Linked DNA regions of Homo sapiens: regions 1, 3 and 4 are each linked to region 2. Evidence: promoter capture Hi-C in 16 types of primary human blood cells and fetal thymus (Javierre and others, 2016). All regions are on one chromosome and are shown on one strand. The core of a region is centred on a gene start or on the middle of the fragment in contact, and the rest is flanking DNA. Distances in the headings are between cores, read along the strand shown. Region 1 has its middle 5.2 kb from the start of TMEM170B. Region 2 holds the start of ERVFRD-1 (endogenous retrovirus group FRD member 1, envelope). Region 3 overlaps TMEM170B (transmembrane protein 170B). Region 4 overlaps TMEM170B (transmembrane protein 170B).

What was found. The method cuts DNA at HindIII sites, captures the fragments that hold promoters and counts their contacts. A CHiCAGO score of 5 or more calls a contact.
Region 1: a contact is called between a fragment that was not itself captured here and the fragment with the promoter of ERVFRD-1 in region 2, in 4 of 17 cell types (non-activated CD4 T cells, M2 macrophages, total CD8 T cells and 1 more). The highest score is 9.7, in non-activated CD4 T cells.
Region 3: a fragment that was not itself captured here is called in contact with the fragment with the promoter of ERVFRD-1 in region 2 in 2 of 17 cell types (total CD8 T cells and erythroblasts); the score reaches 7.7 in total CD8 T cells.
Region 4: a contact is called between a fragment that was not itself captured here and the fragment with the promoter of ERVFRD-1 in region 2, in 1 of 17 cell types (total B cells). The highest score is 6.4, in total B cells.

The regions. Positions count from the first base shown.
Region 1 is chr6:11,529,528-11,535,653 of GRCh38, reverse strand. No RefSeq gene overlaps it. Among named protein-coding and RNA genes, the nearest start is that of TMEM170B, 5.2 kb to the left of the region's middle. The HindIII fragment of the contact is 3,303 bases long and covers 431-3,733 here.
Region 2 is chr6:11,108,019-11,114,192 of GRCh38, reverse strand. It overlaps ERVFRD-1 (endogenous retrovirus group FRD member 1, envelope), which reads left to right and starts at 2,468. Exons shown (of 2, transcript NM_207582.3): 1 at 2,468-2,516. All of the region lies in intron 1 of SMIM13 (small integral membrane protein 13), which reads right to left. The HindIII fragment of the contact is 9,311 bases long and covers 1-6,174 here.
Region 3 is chr6:11,558,763-11,564,847 of GRCh38, reverse strand. The region is part of intron 1 of TMEM170B (transmembrane protein 170B); the gene reads right to left. Among named protein-coding and RNA genes, the nearest start is that of TMEM170B, 24 kb to the right of the region's middle. The HindIII fragment of the contact is 1,562 bases long and covers 3,543-5,104 here.
Region 4 is chr6:11,581,441-11,587,375 of GRCh38, reverse strand. TMEM170B (transmembrane protein 170B) reads right to left here. Exons shown (of 3, transcript NM_001100829.3): 3 at 3,852-5,935. Among named protein-coding and RNA genes, the nearest start is that of TMEM170B, 47 kb to the right of the region's middle. The HindIII fragment of the contact is 766 bases long and covers 3,859-4,624 here.

The DNA.
Region 1 (6,126 bases), core at 833-3,332, 420 kb before region 2:
TCTGTAACATTTGAAGATAAGATCTCTACTCTCTAGGCTACTTAGGTTTTCCTTGATAAAAGTAATGATCTTGACTGTGTTGGAAGCTTATATCCTTAAGAGAATTAGACATTTTCCCAACAGCCAGAGTTATGAAACCCAAAACTGAGTTAATACAAATGAAAGTTTTGGAATTTCTTTCCTACAGATTTTTTATTTTGAATTAATACACCAATTCAGGAAGAGTTTAGTCACGTTCCTGTCAGAAATCAGGGACCACCCCAAGTGAATCCAAAAATTTCCTTTCAACTCTGTGCCCTTCAGCATGAAACAATTCACAAACGTAATTCATAAACCAAAATTCCTGGTTTATTTCTCTCATGTAAGTGAGGGAACACCCATTAGCCTTAGTCATTTTTAAAACTGTCCAGAGACAACCTAGAGGAAAGCTTTTTAAAATCAATTAAAATATAAAATGATATTGATCTTTTGAGAAAAACATTTTCAGGTATCTTTTCAGAAGCACCCCACTCTACTGGTATCAACTTAACGTATTAGTCCATTTTCACGCTGCAGATAAAGACATACCCAAAACTGGGCAATTTATAAAGGAAGAGGTTTAATTGGACTTACAGTTCCATGTGACTGGGGAAGCCTCACAATCATGGTGGAAGGCAAGGAGGAGCAAGTCCCGTCTTACATGGGTGGCAGCAGGCAACGAGAGAATGAGGAAGACGCAAAAGTGGAGACCCTTGATAAAACCATACAGAGCCAAATTATATCATTCCTCCCCTGGTCCCTGCCAACTCTCATGTCCTCACATTTCAAAATCAATCATGCCTTCCCAACAGTTCCCCAAGGTCTTAACTCATTTCAGCATCAACTCAATAGTCCACAGTCCAAAGTCTCATCTGAAACAAGGCTAGTCCCTTCCGCCTATAAGCCTGTAAAATCAAAAGCAAGTTAGTTACTTCCTAGATACAATGGGGGTACACGCATTGGATAAATACAGCCATTCCGAATGGGAGACATTGGCCACAACAAAGGAGCTACAGGCCCCATGCAAGTCCAAAATCTAGACTGATTCAGCTTGATTCAGCTCAGTCCAGCTCCACAGGTCTTCTCATTTCATACCTGAGGCTGAGGAAGATGTCACGCTCTGAGTACATGCCATTCTCATGGTATAGGGCTGGAACCAGGGCTACAATGGGACACTGGCCTTGCCTGCAAAGCCTTGCCTGCAAGTCTTGACAACAGACTCTGAAACACTCTGTTATCAAGATAAATAATATACTAATATAATATTTTTAAAAATAAAAATTCATGCAAAAATCCATGATTAATGAAATACCAAAATTTTAAATAAACACAGAATCTCACCCTGCACTTGCAAGACCTTGTCTCACCCACCTCATCCTTATCCCAGCTCTGGCATGGACAAGAGAGGCAGGGCTAAACTACACAGGTGCATTTAAAGTTCATGCTCAGATATGGGGTCCATGTCACATGCATGTCACATATCCACATTCCCTTGTTTGAAGCAGATTGCATAGTTAAGCCCCTAAGTGAATGGGATAAAAAAGTATATTCTGCCTACAGAGAAGGATGGAAAGAATGAATGGGAGGGGGCAACAAATGGTAATGAACAAATAATGCAGTCTTAACACAGGCTGAGTGAGGTTAAGTCTTCTACAAATAATATATTTCAGCCTATATTTCTGTGTACTTTTTGTAGTTTGCGCTTTACGAATTTTGATTCTATGTGTTTTAGTGAACACATATGTATGTAAGATTTGTGATTTTGCTTTCTTAAATTAAAAATATATTAATTTCCATTATAAAATGCTTTTAAAATTTATGTGAATCTTGTCTGATGTTAAGGTCTTAAGTCCTGCTTTCTGTTTGCATTTGCCTGATATGTATTTTTCCATTCTTTTTCAACTTTGAATAATTTTGTTTTAGGAGTTTGACATCGTATTCCAATATGAAATTTCTAATTTAATAGAAGAACTTCTAGATAATTTCTAGTCGTTGATATAATAAATATGTGGTATTACTTGCATCATAGTTATATTATTATTTCTATTTTTGTTGCTTCTTTTAAAAAAGTATTTCATGGGTATGGTTTGTGTTTCCTTTGCTTTGTTTATGTTCCTTATAATTTGAAAGGATTGGTTTTGTTTTTGTATTTTATAGTAATCTCTGTGACCATAACTGATATACACTTCATCCTCTGTTTAGAATGTATCTAGTGACCATCCACTCTCAGCAATCCTAAAATCATATAACTCCACTTCCTTATAACCTCCTTTTCCTCCCCTTCTCCATCAGATTTAAGAGTATATATTTTTTTCTATTTCTTACTTCTACAGCTAAACTACCTAAGTTTTAATCCTGATTTTATTGCTTTACCAGGAGTGAACATTCAACATTCAGTGAGTTACTTAACCTCTGTAACTTTCAGTTTTCTCCTCTGTAAAATTTGAACTATAATATTCTATTATATGTATAATATATCTGTTATTCATTATAGATAGTATATATTTAATTATAATATTTCCTTGAGATATTCTGAGGATCAAAGTACTTAGTAATTAAGTGCTTAGAGTGGAGTCTGGAGCAGTAAATACTCAATGAATACTAGTTTTTATTACTGTAATATTTAAATATTAATAGATTTTTTAGAACTGTATGGAAATGGCAATCTTCTAAATAATTATTTATTTTAAAGAACAAGCAGAAAGAAATTGTGAAGGATTTTCTTGATGGGCAAGAATCTACCTCTTTCCCACCTTTTTTTTTTTTTAGTGTGATGAATTCATATGACTCAAAACTCTCATGATATGACGTGCAATCAGTGAAAATTCTCCCCCGACCCCTGGCTCCCAGCCACTTAGATCCATGCTGTCTGGGAGTCACCTGCCCTTCCTGGGCCATAACACTGTTTCCTTTAGTAAAAGTGTGGAAAGTGATGTTTGGGCATGAAGAAATAATTTAATGTAGGGTGGAAACTATAGTATTAAGGAAAGGTAAGTGATAAAATTGAGAATACAGGAGAAATGAAAGTTTAGTGACAAATGCCCATTAAAAATAGCCCTATTCTTCTCCCAAACCTAGACCATTTACTAAACATTGGTAAGAAAATGGGTTTCAGGGGCTCCCAACTGTATGCAGCATTTTAGTTAGGGAAAGAGTATTAGTCAGGATTCTCCCAGAGAAACAGAACTAATAGGTTGCCTATGTATAGAAAGACATTTATTATGAGAAGTTGGCTCACACGATTATGGAGGCTGACAAATCCCAGGATCTGCAGGGTGAGTTGGCAAGCTGGCGATCCAGGAGAGCCAATAGTGTAGTTCCAGTCTGAGACTGCATTGCCTGAGAACTAGGAGAGCAATGTTTCCGTTCAGACACTTAGGCAAGAATTCTGCCTGCCTTGGGGGAGCCTTTTTACTCTATTCAAGTCTTCAGCTGATTGGATGAGGCACCCACATGAGGGAGGGCAGTCTGCTTTATTTCATCCACCAATGTAGATGTTACTCTCACCTAAAAACACTCTCACAGAAACACCCCAAATAATGTTTGACCAAATAACTGGATATTCCATGGCCCAGTCATGTTGACACATAAAATTAACCATAATTCTATTTAACACACAAAATTAACCATCTGAGAAATTCAGGAGATTTGAAGACACCTGGGTTATACAGTATGTTCAACAGAAGGCACGACCCTCCTATTATTGAAAGAAGCTTTGAAATGAGAAGTGGAGTTGTCATGAACAGCTTGAAAACTATCATTTATTTAACACTTTCTATCTTTCACATACCAGTCTGTAAACTGTTAACCCTCACAACACCCTTTTAAGGTTGTGCTGTTATTAGCTTCACTTTTCAAATAAGGAAATTGTGGCTCTGGGCAGCCAGTAACCTGCCAAGGTCACCTAGCCCAATACTGTCTGAATCCAAATCCCCAAAATTTAACCATTACTTCCTCAATTTGCCCCTTGTTTTAATAAGACTTCTGAGGCTCAAAACTTACAGGAACTTTAGATCTGCTTGTTGAATGACTTTTGAGGCATAGATACTCACTGTTCACTAAAATCTCTTCTTCCTGGGCATACAACCTGATACATTTCCCAGCCACCCTTGCAGGGAAGTATGGCCTTGGAACGTGCCCAGATGTGATGTGTGCCACTTCCATGCCTGGCATATCAAAACCTCTTTTAACTGTTGCTCCATACTCTTTTTACTTTTCTGATTCATTGGGATGGTGACACTCCAGTATTTTTGAAAGTCACATGTCAAAGATGTCAAAGCCAGTATCAGCCTGGCTTCTTGAAAGAGTGCATAGAACAGGACAGAGAGCCCCCCAGCTGATCTGGAATCCCCTTTGAACTTCCTTGGTATAGAGTTTATAAAAGAAAATAAAATTTTAGGACCCTCTGAATTTATTATGCCAACAGGGAAGGTAAGCCCTGGAGACTGAGTCACGTCATATGTTTGGAATTCTGCTTCTTACATTATAGCTTAACTGTCTTCCTCACTGTTCTTGTTCTGTAAATGAGTAAGACAGATCAGAGCCCAGATCTTTCCTTCCAATCACTGATCTTTGTTATAGATTAGCTGCCTCCTTTGTCCTGTATCTAACTCAGACTAGATGGTGCTCAGGACCCCATAACAGTTACGTCTTCCATGTGGAATGTTAAATGTACCTTTCTCAAGGGAAAAAGACCACCTTAGCTAATCAGATCATTGTAACGAGGCATTAAAGCTTAGATAAGTCCTACACTTTGGAACACTGGCTTCCATTCTTTGGAATCTGTACTTCCTAGGTGGGCCATCCCCCCATTGCACTTGAACACACTCTCCTTAAACTAGATTTTGACCATTTTGATTATTTTAGGTTAGCAACCTGTTGTAATTTGGGACTTTTCCTTCAGTGGTTGAGCTTCCCTAATTAGTATTCCAATACTGCTCTGACAAGAATGCATTCTTTTGTATTCCAGGTTTCCAGTGATTCTATTTTCTAGAAGTCAACTGGTAAATTCAGCTTACTAATCAAAGCTAGATGATCCAAATTTTCTGTAGACACAAACAATTTGAGTATATCTTGTCTACCCACAAAATCCTGCCACCTTGCAGCAGGCAAAGGCTGTTTCCTAGAGAATTCATCCAGACCACCTTTCTTCACTTATTATGACTTTCTAAGTTTTCATATAACGTACAGAATAAATGTTACCCCATCACTCTTCTCCATATTAAAGTTCTGTCCAATTGGGTACCTAACCCAATCCATCATAAATTGAATTCAACTAGAAATATTAGTTGCATTAAAAAAATTGAAACTCTGAAAGTAAATTTTTCCAATGGTCTTTTTTCTTTCTTTTTTAAAATTATTTTTTAATTTTTTAATTATGGGTACATAATATTACAATTATTTTAAAATTAATTTTTAAGTTTTTAATTATGGGTACGTAATAATTCCATTTATGGTGTACATGTGAGTTTTGATACAGGCATACCATTTATAATGACCAAATCAGGGTAACTGGGATCTCCTTCATCTTAAGAATTCATTATTTCTTTGTGTTAGGAACATTCCAATACCGCTCTTTCAGTTATTTTAAAACATACATTTTTTTAAACTATGGTCACCCTATTGTGCTACAGAATACTAGCTCTTACTCATTTGATCAAACTATAATTTTTGTGCCCATTAACCATTCATTATCTTTTTTTTTTTTTTTGAGACGTAGTTTCACTCTTGTCACCCAGGCTAGAGTGCAGTGGTGTGACCTTGGCTCACTGCAACCTCCGCCTCCCGGGTTCAAGTGATTCTCCTGCCCCAGCCTCCCAAGTAGCTGAGATTACAGGCGTGCACCACCACACCCAGCTAATTTTTGTATTTTTAGTAGAGACGAGGTTTCACCGTGTTGGCCACGCTGGTCTCTAACTCCTGACCTCAAATGATCTGCCCGTCTTGGCCTCCTAAAGTGCCGGAATTACAGGCTTAAGCCACCGGGCCTGGCCTGGTAACCATCATTCTAATCTTTATCTCTGTGCATTTAATTATCTACTTTTTAGCTCCCACATATGAGTGAGAACATATGACATTTGTCTTCTGTGCCTGGCTTATTTCACTTCA
Region 2 (6,174 bases), core at 1,219-3,718:
GCCTGGCCAACATGGTGAAATCCCATCTCTACTAAAAATACAAAAATCAGCCAGGCGTGGTGGCGCGCACCTGTAATCCCAGCTACTCAGGAGGCTGAGGCAGGAGAATCGCTTGAATCCTGGGGGCAGATGTTGCAGTGAGCCAAGACCGCGCCATTGCACTCCAGCCTGGGCGACAGAGTGAGATTCCGTCTCAAAAAAATTAAAAAAAAAAAACAAAAAGAATAACTTTATATGTCATACCTTAAAAACTTGATAAGAAGGACTTATCAAACAATAACAACACAAAACAAATGACATTTAAAAATAAAAAGGCAGCCGGGTGCGGTGGCTCATGCCTGTAATCCCAGCACTTTGGGAGGCCGAGATGGGTGGACCACCTGAGATCAGGAGTTCGAAACCAGCCTGGCCAACATGGTGAAACCCTGCCTCTACTAAAAATACAAAAATTAGCTAGGTATGGTGGCACATGCCTGTAATTCCCAGCTACTGGGGAGACTGAAACAGGGCAACCTTTTGAACCCAGGAGGCGGGGGCTGCAGTGAGCCAAGATTGTGCCACTGTACTCCAGCCTGGGCAACAAAGCAAGACTCCATCTCAAAAAAATAAAAATAAAAAGGCAAGCTACAGAATAGAAGAAAATACTTGCAAAACATATCTGATAAAAACAAACAAAAAAAACTTGTATCCAGAATAAAGAATTGTTTACAACTTGATAAAAGTAACACAATTTTTTAAATGAGTAGAAAAAACTTGTAAAGATGATTTACACAGAAGGTAGAAAGAATGGCAAATAACACATAAAAGATGCTGAAAATAATTAGTCATTAATGAAACAAAAATCAAAAGCATAATACCCATCCTCTAGAATGGCTAAATTAAAAACAGACAATACCATCAAATGTTGGTGATGGATGCGGAGTAACAAATTCTCACTCATGACTGCTGGCAATGCAAATGTTTGGCAGTTTCTCAAGAGAAATGAAGTTACTCAAGAGAAATGAAAACATATGTCTACACCAAGATTTGCAACTGAATGTTAATAATACTACTAACTACTAATACTACTACTACAGGCTCACGCCTGTAATCCCAACACTTTGGGAGGCCCAGGCGGGTGGATTACTTGAGGTCAGGAGTTCGAAACCAGCCTGGCCAACATGGTGAAACCCCGTCTCTACTAAAAATACAAAAAAATATATAATAAAATAAAATAAATTAGCCAGGCATGGTGGCAGGTGCCTATAATCCCAGCTACTTGGGAGGCTGAGGCAGGAGAATTGCTTGAACCCAGGAGGCAAAGGTTGCAGTGAGCCAAGATCATACCACTGCACTCCAGCTTGGGCGACAGAGCAAGACCCCATCTCAAAAAAATAAATAAATAAAACAATAATAATACTAACAGCCAAAAGCTGGAAACCACTCTCATGTCCATCAATGAGTAAATGGATAAACAAATTGTGGTATATCTATACAATGGAATACTCTTTCAGCAATACAAAAGAATGTATTACTGATATACACAACACAAATAGATTTCAAAAGCATTATGCTAGCAGAAAGAAGTCAAACACAAAAAGCATGTTGTGTGATTTGATTTACATTAGAAAGGTAAATTTATGTTTATGGAAAGCAGTTTGGGCCAGGTGTGGTGGTTCATGCCTGTAATCCCAGCACTTTGGGAGGCCAAGGACAGCAGATCACTTGAGGTCAGGAGTTCAAGATCAGCCTGGCCACCATGGTGAAATCTTGTCTCTACTAAAAATACAAAAATTAGCTGGGCATGGTGGTGCACACCTGTTAATTCCAGCTATTCAGGAGTCTGAGGCACAAGAATCACTTGAACCCGGGAGGTGGAGGTTGCAGTGAGCCAAGATTGCATCACTGCACTCCAGCCTGGGAGACAGAGCGAGGCTGTCTCCAAAAAAAAAAAAGCAAGCAGTTCTATCAGGAGGCCATTAGGTTAAGCTGGTTCTGTTAGAGTAGGTAGTCAGGCAGACATGAGCAGGGCAGGAGAGGGCCCCCAGCTCAGGAATGTCAGGCGACCATCAGGTGATGATCAGGCGGTTGTTACACTGTTTCTCTAAAATAATAATAATGGGTTGCAGCCAGTACCAGGGAAAGACAGTCTCCCAAAAGACAGGAAACACCGGAAGCTGGTGATCAGCAACTTCCTGATAAGATCTCCGAAGCTGGGCAAGTGGGCTCAAGCATGCGCACTAAGAAGCAAAATGACAGTTTAACCAGTATGTGACCTTCCTCTAGGAACACCTGACTGATAAGGGAAAAATGTCTCAAGAAAGCATGCGCACAACTTCAGTAAACAAATGCACATGTGGCTCCTCCCAAGTGCTGACAGGCCACTGCACAGCAGACAGCCCACCCCAAGGAAAAAAATCCAAGGAGGAGAAATGGAAACCCCGGAACCATGCCGATGTATAAAACCCCAAGTCAAGGGCTGAACAGGGCACTTGGATCTCTCAAATGGTGCAGTGACTCGGATACCTTCCCTAGTGGTAAGACACCTCTACGCCTTGCCTTCTTCGGCTGGAGGCGTTCAACCCTCGTACGTGGTTTCGTTCTCCTCTTTCACTCTCCTGCTTACTAACCTACCCCTGGAACGATTCCTCTCAACCACAGTGGCTCTGCTCCCCCTGGCTGCTCTCTCTGCTCACCCCGAAGGATGGCTTGCAGGGGTGGGAAGGACCTTGGAGTCTGCACTAAGTAGACCTGAGACACTAATGGCCCCCCCAGACAGGAGGCTGATGAGAGCGGTAGGGCTAAAACCTACAACCATGTAGTATCTGGGGTTTCCTCTGCTTTTTCAACTAAAATCAGCTCTTTCCCAAAAACCCACCACCACCTATTTTCCTTTCTCTGTATGTATTCCAAAATGACCTCGCACACCCATTGGACCAACTGCCTTGGGGGTAAGTCTGTCTTTTCTCTGTTCTTACTTTGCATGCCCTGCAACTTTCTTCTCTGCCTTAAACACACATTCCCTATTTGTTATTCATGCACCCGCAGCTCTTGCTGTGTTAGCCTGGCAACCAAGAGATGGACTCCCTTACGGATGTCCCTTGATATTTATACTTGTTACCCTACCAGCTCGGATGACCTCCAACCCTTTCCCTGTCTGTTGGCTCACTGCCGGGATAGACACTAATCAGAACCTTAGCTCTGTCAGCTCCTTATGACTTACCATATGCTTTTCATCCCTGTTATGCTCCAGGGCCATGTTTCTCCCTGGCTTTTGAATGGTTTGCTTGCTTGCATAGGACCTCACTCTGTAGCCCTTAAGGACCCCACCCACTCGCTTTTTTTCTGAGTTAGCACCCCTTTGTGGGGAAGGAAAATTCTCTGCCGTTTGCAGGGTCTTATCCCAAACACCAAGTCCTCCAGAGGTTCCTCCTTTATATCAAGAGGGCAAATAAACGTTGCCCTCTCAAATCCAAGGGCTGCTGTTTCTGCAAACATATGAAGGCTTTCCATGAGTATTCCTCTTGCTTCCTCCCGCTTTCTCCTGTAGCAGAGGGATTGTTCTACCTCGTTAAGCATTTGTTCTGCATGTTACCCTGGGAGGATGAAGAATCCCAAATACAAATTTTCCTCCATTCCTCTAATCACCTCCAGGCCCTTCTCAATATGTATCAGGACCTTCAAAGTTATATTTGAAGGGAGAGAAGTCCAGCCCCCTTGCAGCAATTGGCAGAAAAACAGGCTTCTCGTCTTCTTAAAGAACATGGGAAATGAGAATCTGAGAAGAGATAATCATTCTGTTGCTAGAATGCTCTGAACAAGGGTCACTATAAGGTCATGGAGACAAGGATATAGGACAGCCCAAGGAGGCAGATGCAAGAGACCAAAGTACCCATAGAACAGAGATGAAGACTAGTTCCAGGCTACAAACACAAAACAGATTACCACTGCAACACAGATGAAGGCTGGTCCAGAAATGGGATGGGATCAGGGTAGGGGTACCCAGTAAACACTGGGTTCATTCCAGAACCCCTTGGATGAGTGGGAGGGCACCCTGTTCACTGTAGTCTGCCATAGGCACAGGATTAAGAGAACAAGGGGAGATGCCCTCTTCTCGCCTCTGTTCTTTCTTTACAAACGGGTAATTGTGCCTCAATAAAACAAGATGGGACCAAGGTTAGGGGTACCTGGTAAGCACTGGTTCATTCTGGAACCCCTAGAATGAATGGGGGACACTGCCATACGCAAAGGAAAAATGGATGAATGGGGTAATGCCCTACCCACTCTGGTCTGCTGTAAGTTCAGGAAAAAGACAGTAGGGAAATTGGAGGGGTTGCCTTCTTTTTCTCTTCTCTCCTCTGTTCTCTCTGTGGACAGGTAATCAAGTCTCTGTACCACAGGACACACTACTAGGATACATCCTCAAGAACTGGGAAAAGTTTGACTCCCAAACCCTAAAAAGGAAAAGGCTAATATTTTTCTGTAATACAGCCTGGGTTGAATAAAAGCTCTAGGACCAGGAATCTTGGCCAGAAAATAGAAGCACAAATTTAAATATGATCCATCAACTAGATTTGTTTTGCTACCACCAGGGAAAATGGACAGAAATCCCCTATGTGCTGGCCTTCATGGCCCTAAGAAACAACCCTGACCTTTGTTGGGCTTGTAAAACAGATCCATGGCCATAGTCATGCAGCCCCTTCCCATTGGTTCAGAAGGCCCCTCATCAGGTTTACCCAGAGCTCAAGCCCCATTGCCCCTTCTACCCAATTATATCGAAGTCTCCCAGAAGCCTTCTCCTCCCTACCCAGGGCCATCCTCTGGACACCACCTCCTTAAGTTATGCCCCATTCAGGAGGTTTAGTGGTCCCAGTGGACCCACTGGAGTCCAGACTCCATTCACTGTGCAAGACCTGAGCCAAATTAAAATGGAACTAGGGAAGTTTATGGAGGACCCTGACAAATATATCAAAGTGTTTTATAAACTGGGCTTAACATCTGAACTCACCAGGAGGGACCTCTCAGTCATACTAGGGCAAACTCTGCCTAAGGGAGAATGTGACTCCATTATGGTGGCGGTCCAACAATTTGCAAACACAATGCACATGCCTGACACTGGTGGCTACCCTGTGGGGGCCACCATAGTTCCCCAGGTCAACCCCAATTGGGATTACAATATCCAGGGGAGTACATGAGCAAGGACCCACATGTTCCTCTATCTGATAGAAGGAATGAAAGCTAGCAGAGCAAAGCCTGTGAACTGTAATAAATTGGGCTTGACAGATCAAGGGCCTTATGAAAACCTCACCATTTTCTTAGACAGGCTAGAAGAGGCCCTAGTGAAACACACTAACCTAGACCCAGACCCACTAGAAGGACAACTGTTCATAAAGGATCATTTCCCTAACTCAAACAACACCAGATATTAGGAGGAAACACCAGAAACTAGCACTGGATCCCAGTACCCCTATGCCTGACATCTGCAAAGTAGGTTCCTTGGTCTTTTACAACCAAAACCAGGAGGAGTAGGAAAGGGCTCAAGAAAAGGAGAGGCAAAAGGAAAAGCAACAGCTCCAACTACTGACTGCCCTGCAAACCTGCCAGCCACCTCTGGCAGGCCCCAGGGAGATCCCTTTGCCCAAATGCTACTTCTGTGGGGAGCCAGGCCACACAAGAAGGCAGTGCCCAAACTGATGGGGACACCCACCCCCAGCTCTCCATGCTCCAATTGCCACAATCTTGGCCACTGGGAAACAGGACTACCCTGAAAGCTGAAAGGCCCTCAGGACATCCCAACTGGATGACCTTCAGCTCCTTGAGCTGAAGGGGGCCCTACGCTCCACTTGGCTCCTGGATTAAATAACACTATTGAAGGGACAGAGCCAAGGGCTGCCTTGGATGTGCCCAGTAGGACTGTAAGTTTTCTTTTGGACATGAGGGCTGCCTGCTCAATGCTTACCTCTTTTCCCAGGCAATTATCCTCCTGGGAGGATATGAAGTGCCCGTAACCTGGAGGTTTACTCCTCCTCTGTGCTGTCTCTGGGGGAAAACCGTCTTTTCTCATTCATTTTTAGTGATGCCAGAATACCCTACATACCTTTTGGGTAGAGATATTTTGCTCAGACTAGGGGCTCAGTTAACCTTTCCTCCAGGGCCAACACCCCCTTTTTCAAATGCAATCTTATGCCTCAAGGA
Region 3 (6,085 bases), core at 3,074-5,573, 450 kb before region 2:
CCTGGGACTTCTGGATTGGGACCAACTGAGTGTCCTTGCTCTTTGGGTAGCTGAAGCAGAAAGGCTCAAGATTTGTGAAGCTACTTCATCGTCGCATGATGAAAGCCACAGTACAAGAAGGAAAAAGATCCATCAAAGACAAGAGAGAATCAAGTCCCTTAATGAGTTATTTCTAAGGCCTGACTCATTACCATCCTTAGATTCAATGTCACATCCCAGTTCCCATTTAATAAAATCCCTCTTTTTACTTAAACTATTCAGATAAGGATTCTCTCACTTATACCTGAAAGAGCTGACTCTAAAATATTTAGATGTCACCTTGAGGATCATCCTTGATATGCAAACATTCTATAATACAAAGTATCTCATCTGTGATTTGGGCTAGGTAGTCACTATCAATTGTAAAAGAAAAGTCAATAAAATAGTCATTAAAGAATTAAAATGGATGAATCAAAACCTATGTATCCAAATATCATTAAACATAGATATTTACTGTTGGTAGGAATGTAAAATGATGCAGCTGCTGTGGAAAATAGTATGGAGGCTCCTCAAGAAGTTAAAAACAAAACTACCATATGATCCAACAATTCCACTTTCTGGGTATATACCCAAAAGAACTAAAAGCAGAATCTCAAAGAGATATTGGCACACCCATGTTTATCAGTATTATTCACAATAGCCAAGAGGTGATAGCAACTCAAGAGTCCCTGAATGGATAAATAAAACATGGTACACATACAACGGAAAAATTACTCAGTTTTAAAAGGGAAGGAAGGAAATCTTATCACATGCTACAACAGGAATGAACCTTGTGGACATTATGCTAAGTGAAATAAATCATCACAAATGAATACCATATGATTTTGTTGTTTTTTTTTAAGGCAGAGTCTTGCTCCATCACCCAGGCTGGAGTGCAGTGGCGTGACCACAGCTCACTGCAGCCTCCATCTCCTGGGATCAAGTGATCCTCCTGCCTCAGTCTTCCCAGTAGCTACAACTACACATGTGGGCCACCACGCCTGGCTAGTTTTTAAAAAATATTTTTTGTAGAGACAGGATCTGCCTGTGCTGCCCAGACTGGTCTAGAACCCCTGGCCTCAAGTAATTCTCCTGCCTCAACTTCCCAAAGTGCTGGGATTACAGGCGAGAACCACCACACCTGGCCTCAAGTTGTAACCTTTAAAATCAACCAGTAACCATAACCAGTGAAGTGTTTCCTTGCGTTCTATGAGCTGTTCTAGCAAATGATGAAACCTGAGGAGGGGTCAATGGGAACCCCCGACTTACAGTCAGTCACAAATATGGGAAGCGCAGACTTTCTACTGGTGTCTAAATGGGAGTCGTTTCTGGGACTGTGCCTTTAACCTGCGGGACTGGATGCTAACACCAGGTAAATGTCAGAACTGAACTGAACTGTAGGACACCCAGTTGGTATCCTAGAGAACTGCTTGGTGTGGGAAAAAAACCACACATCACTTGTCACAGAAGTGATCTGTGTGAGGGAGGAGAAAACAGTGAGTGCCTTTTCTTGGCGGGGAGGGGGGCCTGGTGTGGAGTAACCTCAGCTCACTGCAACCTCCACCTCCCAGGTTCAAGCGATTCTCCTGCCTCAGCCTCCCAAGTAGCTGGGATTACAGGTGCCCGTCACCATGCCTGGCTAATTTTTGTATTTTTAGTAGAGATGGGGTTTCTCTGTGTTGGTCAGGCTGTCTCAAACTCCCGACCTCAGGTGATCTGCCCACCTTGGCCTCTCAAAGTGCTAGGATTACAGGCGTGAGCCACTGCCCCCAGTCAACAGCGAGTATGCTTCATCAGTTATGTTTTTACCAATTTTTTTTAAAAAGTAAAAAATTTAAAAGCATGATATAAATTTGAAAAATACTTAGGTCAAGACCATAAATGACTAAGAATTTTAAAACGAAACAAAAACTCCTTAAAAAGGAAGGAGGGTATGGTTATTAAAAAGCAACATGAGTGATCTTTGTGGTAATGGATTTCTTCTTTGACTATAGTGGTGGATATACATGTAAGTGATACAATTGTATAGAACTAAATACACAATAGAGAAGAGTACAAGTGTAGAAGAAATACTAGCAAAATCTGGATAAGGTTGGTGGATTGCATCAATGTTAATATCCTGGTTGATATATTATACTGTGGATTTCTGAGATGTTCCTATTGGGTAAACTGGATAAAGGGTACATAAGCTCTCTATGTATTGGTTCTTACAACTGTGATTCTTATAATCTCAAAATAAAAGTTTAATCTTAAAAAACGAAAGAATAGAAAGATTTTTTTAAAATCAGCTTTACCCTGCCAAATTCTTAAGAACTGGCACGTAGAATGGACTCATGCAATTTGAAATTATTTCAAAGAAGATACATCTGATATATTTTACAGTGTGTGTTAAACTACCATGCATGCTTCTCAATGGCATACAAGATAGATGCTAGTGATTACGGAAATATAGACAAAACTTGCCTTTTAGAGGCTTTTCTCTTCCAGCATTCAGGGAAACAGTATTTCAGATCATTACTCTCAAACAAATGGCTTCAATTTATAATAAATACATTAAAATTTAAAAACCCCAACTTGCTCAGCAGATATTTGCATATTGAAAGATACAGTTTTCCTAAGTGAACCTAATAAAGTGAGAATATAAGGGAGTAGAATATGGGGGTGTATATTTTCATCAAGGGAGCTCTTTTCTCAACTTACCCTGAGACAAGGAAAGGCTCTGCAACAACCACAGGCTCTTCAATACAAAAGTCAACAATCCGCCTTGTACCTCACGCCCATTTAAAAAAGTTCTTATAATACAATTAGAGGAAATAATTTATTTATTGACTATATTTAACACTGTGAACAGGAAATTATCTGACATTATAAAAAAGTAGTGTTGTTTGACTACTGAATATGTAGCTATGATCTCAACAATAAATCTACCTAATAGAAGGCAAAGTAAAATTTCAGTTTAATGTTTTATAAAAACCAAAGGTATCAAAATAATCATAAAATTAAAATAGAATTTCAAATGGTCTTCCAATGACCAGTCCAGGATTATTCCTTCATCAGACTGAACATGAACAAAGTACCCTAATGTCAGATTTACTTTTATATTTCTTTCTCTCTTTTAAAAAATCATACTCTTTATGATGGAAAAAATGATAGAAAACATAACCTAACAGTTATGTTAGGTTTTGTGTTATTACTATTATTTTGAATTACCTGACAGATCAACATAACCTCATGAGTGAACAGGGACCCTAAAGATTTTGATCAACTCTGGATAAGCAAGACTTAAAGTCTAAGGCCCAATCACTATCGGCAAATACATGAAACCTACTGGATTAGTTCAGGTGAAGAGAACCGCAGGATCCTAAGGACTAGAGCAAAAGCAGATGCCCAAGGTCCTAGGAAGAACACCTAGTAAAAAGACAGGAGTGGAATATCACAGCCTTTTCTTAAACTGTCTATGCTAAAGTGAACACCCAGAGGCTCACAGTTTTCTCTCTCCACTCATACCCCACCTCATCCAAGCTTCTAGCAATTGGGTAACAATGAAGGGAGGAAGCCAGAGAGACTTTTGCTAGTGCTGAAAAAATACAAAACAAACATTTTAAAAATGTAATACAAAAAAACAACAGAAACTTTGAAGCATCTCATGCCTATAATCACCATAATTCTCTGGAAGGGAATATCCCTTCTTCCAGAACGTATCTCAGAAATTCCTTTGGTAACATTTCCCCACTCAAGACTGTCTATAATCCTCACCTTAATTTTGCCTGGATTGTTGCAGTGTGTTACTTTTTGGTGGGGTAAAAGGCAGCAGAGTTATGATCTGTTCCAGCCTCCAAACAATACTAGAAATAGCTCTGCTCCCAATCTGTAACTTTCATCAGCTCTGGTTGCCAAGCCACTAAAAAATTATCTTCTGTGCTTTTGTTTTTAATCCTTCAACAACATTATTTATGAGAAATGAATTTCTCTAGATGTCTAAAAAATACTGAGTAAAAACAAGTCAAAGAATGGTACATATTGTATAATCCTATTTGTTTAAAAAAGTACATTTTCATATCTGTATAGAAAACATATAACCAAATGGAAGAAGACCTAACAATGGCTTTTAGAGATAAGATATGAGATGAATGATATCATTTTATACATTCTTTACTATTTTAAACTGGTCTGAAATATTTTACACACATTTTTACTGCAAATATAATATTTTTAGAAATTAGTTTTTCATTTTTTTTTTTTTTTTTAAGAGATAGCAGTCTTGCTATGCTGCCCAGGCTGGACTCAAACTCCTGGGCTCAAACGATTCTCCTGCCTCAGTCTCCTGAGTAGCTGCTACTACAGGCATGTACAACTATGCCTGGCTCTCATTCTATTCTTTATCAAAGGAGAAGATTTGGGAGGCTGAGGCAGGTGGATCATGAGGTCAGGAGATCGAGACCATCCTGGCTAACATGGCGAAACCCCATCTCTACTAAAAATTAAAAAAAAAAAAAAAATAGCTGGGCGTGGTGGCGGGCACCTGTAGTCCCAGCTAGTCGGAAGGCTGAGGCAGGAGAATGGTGTGAACCCAGGAGGTGGAGCTTGCAGTGAGCAAAGACCACGCCACTGCACTCCAGCCTGGGCGACACAGCAAGACTGTCTCAAAAAATAAAAAATAAAAAATAAAAAAATAAAAATAAAGGAGAAGATGCTCTGCTAGATCAATGGTTCTCAACTTGAGCTGCTCATGAGAATTACTGCATACTGGGTATGCAGTAGAGACAGAAATCACTACTCTAGGATAAAGTTACATAAGAGGTATTTATTTAAAACTCCGAAAGTCATTAAAACAACAAAACCTATCTCATTAGACTATTTTTTTAATCCTCAAAAATACAGAGAACCCAACCTCTCTATTAAAAGTCATTAGCAAGTCAATACTGAAAACTTACTATGCACTAAACATTCTAGAAATCAAGCTGAAAATACCATTTATATATTTTATATATATATTTTTTCTTTCTTTATACCATCACCTTCTTTATAGAAATGGTCCATATTACATATTTAAATAATCTGTGTCCAAATTGGGTTATTTCAAGCTTTTTATTATACCAACAAATCTGAAGTGTAGAACTTGCACCCATTTTCTAACAGCAATGACTTCTGAATTTGGGGACATGTCCCACATAGGGGACTTACTAGACTCTCAGAGAGATGATACATTTATAATTTGGAAAAGTGCTATACAGATCAAGGGTCGGCAAAATATAGCCCATGAGTCACATCTAGTTTACCACCTGTCTCTGTATAGTCTTCGTGAATGGTTTTTAGATTTTGAAATGATTTTTTAAAATCAAGAAGCTGGGCACAGTAGCTCATGCCTGTAATCCCAGCAGTTTGGGAGACTGACTCAGGGGGACTGTTTGAGCCCAGGAGTTCAAGACCAGCATGAGGCCCTGTCTCTACAAAAAATTAAAAAATTAGCCAGGCATGGTTGTGCATTCCTGTGGTCCCTCACTACCCAGGAGGCTGAGACGGGAGAATCACTTGAGCCCAGGAGGTCAAGGCTGCAGCAGTCACCCATGATCATGCTACCACACCCCAGCCTGGGTGACAGAGTGAAACCCCGTCTCAAAAAAAAAAAAAAGAAAAGAAAAGAAAAAAATATATAAAGAACAATAATTTGTGACATGTAAAAATCATAGGAAACTCAAATTTCAGTGTTCATAAAGTTTTATTGGAACAAACTCATTCATAGTAGTCTATGACTACTTTCAAGCTACAATGGCAGAGCTGAGTAATTGAGACAGAGATTATATGGCCCATGAAGCCAAAAATATTAATATTTACTACATTTTCTATTTAAGTAAAATAAAATACTATTGCTAAAAGTAGAATACTGTATTTACAGAAAATGTCTGCTGACTTCTGGGCTGGGCTTGGCTGTCCCATCCCCCATTGAAAATTATAGTCAAGGTAGTTTCACATATTATCAAGAGTTGGCACTTTGAGTGTTCAATTAATGACATTTCAATTACATATGTTCTAATTCCTCAGTTTCTGCAGAGTACAGTATGTACGT
Region 4 (5,935 bases), core at 2,992-5,491, 470 kb before region 2:
CACCAACACCAATTCCCACGAAAAGTAAGCCAAGTGTAGTTTTATGAAAATCTGTTTGGTCCTCTTTTTTTTTTCTTTTTTGGCAACAGAGTCTCACTCTGTTGCCCAGGCTGGAGTGCAGTGGTACCATCTCGGCTTACTGCAACTTCCATCTCCCGGGTTCAAGCGATTCTCCTTCCTCAGCCTCCCAAGTAGCTGGGATTACATGTGCCCGCCAACATGCCCGGCTAATTTTTTTGTATTTTTAATAGAGAGGGTGTCTCACCATGTTGGCCAAGCTGGTCTCGACCTCCTGACCTCAAGTGATCCGCCTGCCTCGGTCTCCCAAAGTGCTGAGATTACAGGCATGTGCCATCTGGTGTCTGAAGTTCAGTCCTGATTGAAGACCCTGAGTGCAGGGGCACGTGTGTCCCCATGGCTGCTGTAGGCCACACTATGGGAAAACAAAACTCGCGCTTTTACAACCAGAACTCTGGAGCTGAAAAGACCAACCCTCCCTCTCTGAGTTTGAACTAAATAGTTTGTCTCTGTAGCATAGTAAACAAAGCAGAGCAGCTCATTAGCAACAGGATCTGCAGTGGTTGGTGACTATGTGCACAGCTGATGGGCAAGTCCCGGCCATCTTTCAGGATTCATTTATGCTGGCCGCCTTGGCTTCCTCATCTTGTACATATTTGGTTTAGAGAATGCGAGGAATTTGCTAGCTGAGCAAGTTTATTCATCCTGCTTTCTAACTAGGCTCTTTCCCACTGAGGTATGTTTCTAAAATTTCCCTCAGCAGGCTTTGTTGCAAAAGCAGTGCGGGGTTCAACGGGACAGTTTAAATCTAAAACAAATCCTCCCTAAAAATGCACTGTTCTCTGTCAGGACAGAATCTGGCTCTGTCTTTGAAACAGAAGTGCCTGAACTTATTACCAAAACTTCTAGCAAAGGCTGGAAGGACATCATCCCTCTATGTGCAGACAATACATTGAAAGAGGGCAATGGGACAAAGGTTATTTTCTAAGCACTCACTGCGTGCAACATGAGATGTCATTCCATTTTACTAATGTGAGAACTGACTGTTGCAGAAGTTAAATGACTTGGACAAGTTCAATTACTAAGTGGTAGAGCAGGAATTTAAAACCGAGTCTCATGACACAAGGCAGATTGCACTATGTGTGCGTAACCCCAAGTTGACCAACTGTATAACTAAATGTCACTAAGAAAGCGTAGACTACTAAATTAGATACTAAGATATCAAGGCTTGCATCTGTAATCCTAGCTATTTGAGAGGCTGAGGCAGGAGGATTGCTTGAGGCTAGGAGTCGGAGACCAGCCTGGGCACCAAACACAGTGTGACTCTCTCTAAATAATAAATAAAATACACTAGGTAAAATAAATAAATTAGATAAAACCATTATGCATTGAGTTGGAATTTAAGAAAAATATATAAATCAAAGTCTAGATTAATGACTTACAAAAATCATAAACTAAAGTGATTTTCTAATTTGCAAACAATCCTGATAGGTTGTTTCTAATTTGCAAACAACCTATCTTAATAATTCTTTGGAAAGTTACATTGGCTAGTGATGACATGAAGAAACCTTAATTTTTCTCATATTTAATTTTCTGGTGTGCATTTCTTTTGGAAAAAAAACATTAAATGTATCATATGGAAATGAATCCAAAAGTAACAATCAGTTAATTTCAGTTCATAGGTAATGTCCAAGGCAAAAGCAAGGAGAAAAATAAAATAGAACCACTGCACCATCTAGTGACGGAACTCTTGCTTTACAAGAAAACCACCTGATGCAATTACATTTTGCCAATCAGTCCCCAGAACTTTCTGAGCCTGAAAAATATTCATAAAATTGTCCAAAAGAAGAATGCCTAGTGACAATGAATCATAGAAAATTAAGAGCAGACAGGATAGATTCCTAAGTTTCCATTTGGAAGCTAGAGGCAAACCCAATTTTTAGTCCTCAAAGAGTGGGTGCCATGGATCCTGTTTACTTTCCCCTCTGCACCCAGAAGCTTGATGTAGTATTTTATGAGCTAATAAGGGTTTGAAGCCAGGCATGGTGGCACACACCTGTAATCCCGGCTACTCAAGGGGCTAAGGAGAAGGACTGCTTAGGCCCAGGAGTTCGAGACCAACCTGGGCAACACAGTGAGCGATCCACTCTCAAAAACAAAATAATAAAGGTTCAACTGCAAAACACAGATGGTGTAAGGATGTATTCAGTAAATCTGAAATGTTTCTCCACAAGCCTGACTAGGACTCATTCATAATGGTAAACACAAGGCTCAGTTTAAGACTAAAGCGTCTTTCTTCTAATTACCTTTCCCTGTAGTTTTGTCCAATGTAGGTGGTGATAAATCTGAAATTTACTAGCCAGGCATGGTGGTGCACATCTGTATTCCTAGCTACTGGGGAGGCTGAAGAGGGAGGATCACTTGAACCCAGGAGGTCAAGGCTGCAGTGAGCTAATTACACCACTGCACTCCAGGCTGGGCAACAGAGTCAGATCTCATCAATCACTCATTAAATCTGAAATAAGTAAATCCGAAATTTAATGTCTTATTTGAATGCTCTGCAAATAACAAAATGCCCAAAGAAAACTGACTTATTTTTTTAAATTACAAAAATATTACTTCAAGGGCCAAAAAAGATACTAGAACTAAAATAGAAAACTTTTTTGGGATCTCAAGATTTATATTTTGTCCAAGATGTTAACATTCATGGCCAGGGAGAAAATGTATTGAATAATTTTATGATTAGTGTGAATGAATAAAAAAAATTACCAAGGAAGAAGAAAATATATTTCCACGGAGTAATTACGTGGAATGAGTAGGTCAGTGTATGTGAAAAAACGTTTACTTCCATTATGCTTGCGCAATGTTTAAAGTGAAGCTAGTTTTCATTCCAGCAAGATTTGAAACATTTATAGTGACTGGCTCTGTCAGCTCCAATCTCTTCACAGGCAAGATAGCAGTTGAATCTAGTTGGGTACTTAGCACTTCCCTGAGAAATCCCAAACATTCAAAATATGCATAAATTTGACAATTCAAATCCTCGGTTGATAATTTTTCAAGACCACATAATTTCATCTGGTTTTTTACAGTAATGAGATATTATCTCATTACAGGTAAGAGTTCCCAAAATACTCTGTAGACACCAACACAACATAGTTATGTTGGGGGAAGCAGGTAATCGAGCAAGAAAACCCCAGCCCGGCAATTATTAGCTCTGTGGCCTTGAGCAGATTCCTACCTTCTCTTAACTTCAAATGCTTCATCTATAAAACGGCGATAAAACATATCACTTGAAGGGTTACCTTAAGTGTTAAAGAATACATAGGAAGTGTCTTTAACAGATAAGAAGCACTCAACAAATGGTAGCTCCTTATTAATAAAATTGATAGCATGTTTCTTTAAACGGTAACTCAGAAGTAGATGCTATGTGGCCCAGGATTGATCCTAGGCAAGTCTATTAACCAGACTTTATGCCTCACACCTTTTTTTTTTTTTTTTTTTCTGAGACAGAGTCTCACTCTGTCGCCCAGGCTGGAGTGCAGTGGCACGTTTTTGGCTCACTGAAACCTCCGCCTCCCGTGATTTCCCAGGCTCAGCCTCCCAAGTAGCTGGGACTACAGCCACACACCACAGCGTCCAGCTAATTTTTTTGTATTTTAGTAGAGACGGGTTTCACCACGTTGGCCAAGCTGGTCGCCTCTCAGCTTTTAAGCACTAACTCCTAAATCTGTAGGTAAAACAGGGCCAGAAAAATTGACAAAAAGGCAAGAGAAGACATTTGAGTCCATAGTGAATGAATTGAAAAGATTTATCACCAAGAGTCAAACACCCCATAAAGCTTTCAAAGACAGGTTTATTTATATATAAGTGCATGAAATTGAATACAGAAACTTTATTAAAATACTGTATATTACAAATTTTTAATCCAATAAATTCTGTGTAATGACATTTAAGTGCTGGATTCACTTTTTAACAGTTGTCTTGTGTGTATCAGTAAAGAGTTCACCCTGTATATTACAAAGAGGAGAGCCACATGTGGACCTCAGAAATGGTCCTGTGATTAGACACTGAATGATAGTAATTGTGCATCTTTTCCTTAAAGCAATGAATTGGAACCTAGATCTTATCTTTGTAGACCTACTTTCTATAATTAAAAATAACTTGCATATGTTTATTGCTGCCCTTTGAAGAAAATGAGAATGGTGAAAAATAATTTAAAATAAAGATCAACATCTCTAGGCTAAACTGATGCTTACTGCAATTAAAATTACTTAAAATTCACTGCAAAATTTGTGTTCTCCAGGAAATTATGCTATATACATAATGAGATTTGTACATGAATTGGGAAATAAAAAATTGCTTATATAAAATTAAAAATCAATAATATACAATATTTACAGCTTGTTAGGTATTATATATAAACATAGTTTTTAAAATAATCCTTCAAAATTAAACTGTTTTATGTAAACATGCAGTACACATACTCATATAGTTTATAGTCTTAACAGAAGGGGAAATTGTGTTCACATAACACAGGGTACTTCATCAAATATGCCTTTGTTTTTGTGTATTACCCCTCCAACATTTATTCTCCTGTCTTTAAGCTTCACAGTACATTTAGTATTTCTATAGTAAAAATAAATCCCTGATGGTAAACATATTTCTAAAGGTTAAAGTGTGTGCCCTGTACTACAGTATAAAACTAACACTGTTCACTAGAATCTCTAGTTTACAACAAAACTAAATTTTAAAGTCTCACACTTAATTTTCTTAACTACATTTTTTTCCATTTCATACTTGGAAAAAGAAAAAATAGAGAAAAATACCACATCATGAAAATATAGTGAAAGTAGCTGTCATCTGTCACAGTCAATGACTAAGTAACTGATTTACATTGAACCATATGAAGTTAGTAGCTACTATTCGTTAGGCTTTCTAAACTTTGAATTCCCAGTCACTGGTGATGTGTATCTAGCCAACTCACTGGTGCCAATCCTGAATCTTGCTAAATCCATTTTGCACAAGTATCTTAACTTTCAAGGCACTAAGGCTTCATTTAGCTTTTAAAATCTGCCTGTGATTTACCAAAAGATTCATCAGTGGTCTGAGAGTTAACACAATTTGAAAGTGAGACTTTTAATACTTGTCAGGTAAACTATATTTTTGCTATTTAAATAAAGACATTTTAGCTAGTTAACTTTCAAGATAAAGTTGATTCCCTCATCTCAGAATAACTAGAGTCAGGGGCTAATATTTTTGGTAGAATCCTATGAATTTTGGATGGCTAAAACAAAAAATACCGTGAATTTCCTATTTGTTCATCTAAATGCGTGCAGCTCAAGTCTGAATGTGTGTATTGGTGAGAGGGCCAAATCTTTCAAAAAAATTCTTCCATTGTAAATGCATCCAACATCAAAAACATTAAGAAAGTGTCAACAGTTAAACTATCAACTCATCTGCTATTAAAAGCAAGTCATTTTTATGATCATTTACTCAACAAGTGCCACTATGTTGCTTTCTATGGAGAAAACTTTAAAATGTTCCATTCCAAAAATACTTAACAATGATGTGTAAATACTTTAAAAACAAGAGAAGCGTCATCATCAGTAGTACTCTCGAGTTAACGTTCCTTTAAACAAGGCTCTAAAAAAAGTGATTTCTGCTTAATTCAGCAAGACAGAATAAAATTTTTAAAGTGGTGATTTTTAGGAACTACCAATTTATAAGAGAAAAAGTGTTACAGTTATGGGACTCAGACGATTGATTATGCACCGCAATTCCTCTTTCTGTGTATTTGTGTCAAACTGCTTTTCCGTTTCAGTTATCCACCTAAATACATTCCCAAAAAGGGTGGAGTCATGTTACTACCAAGAGTAGATACATGTGGGTGCAGTACATAATCGTAAAAATGTATGTA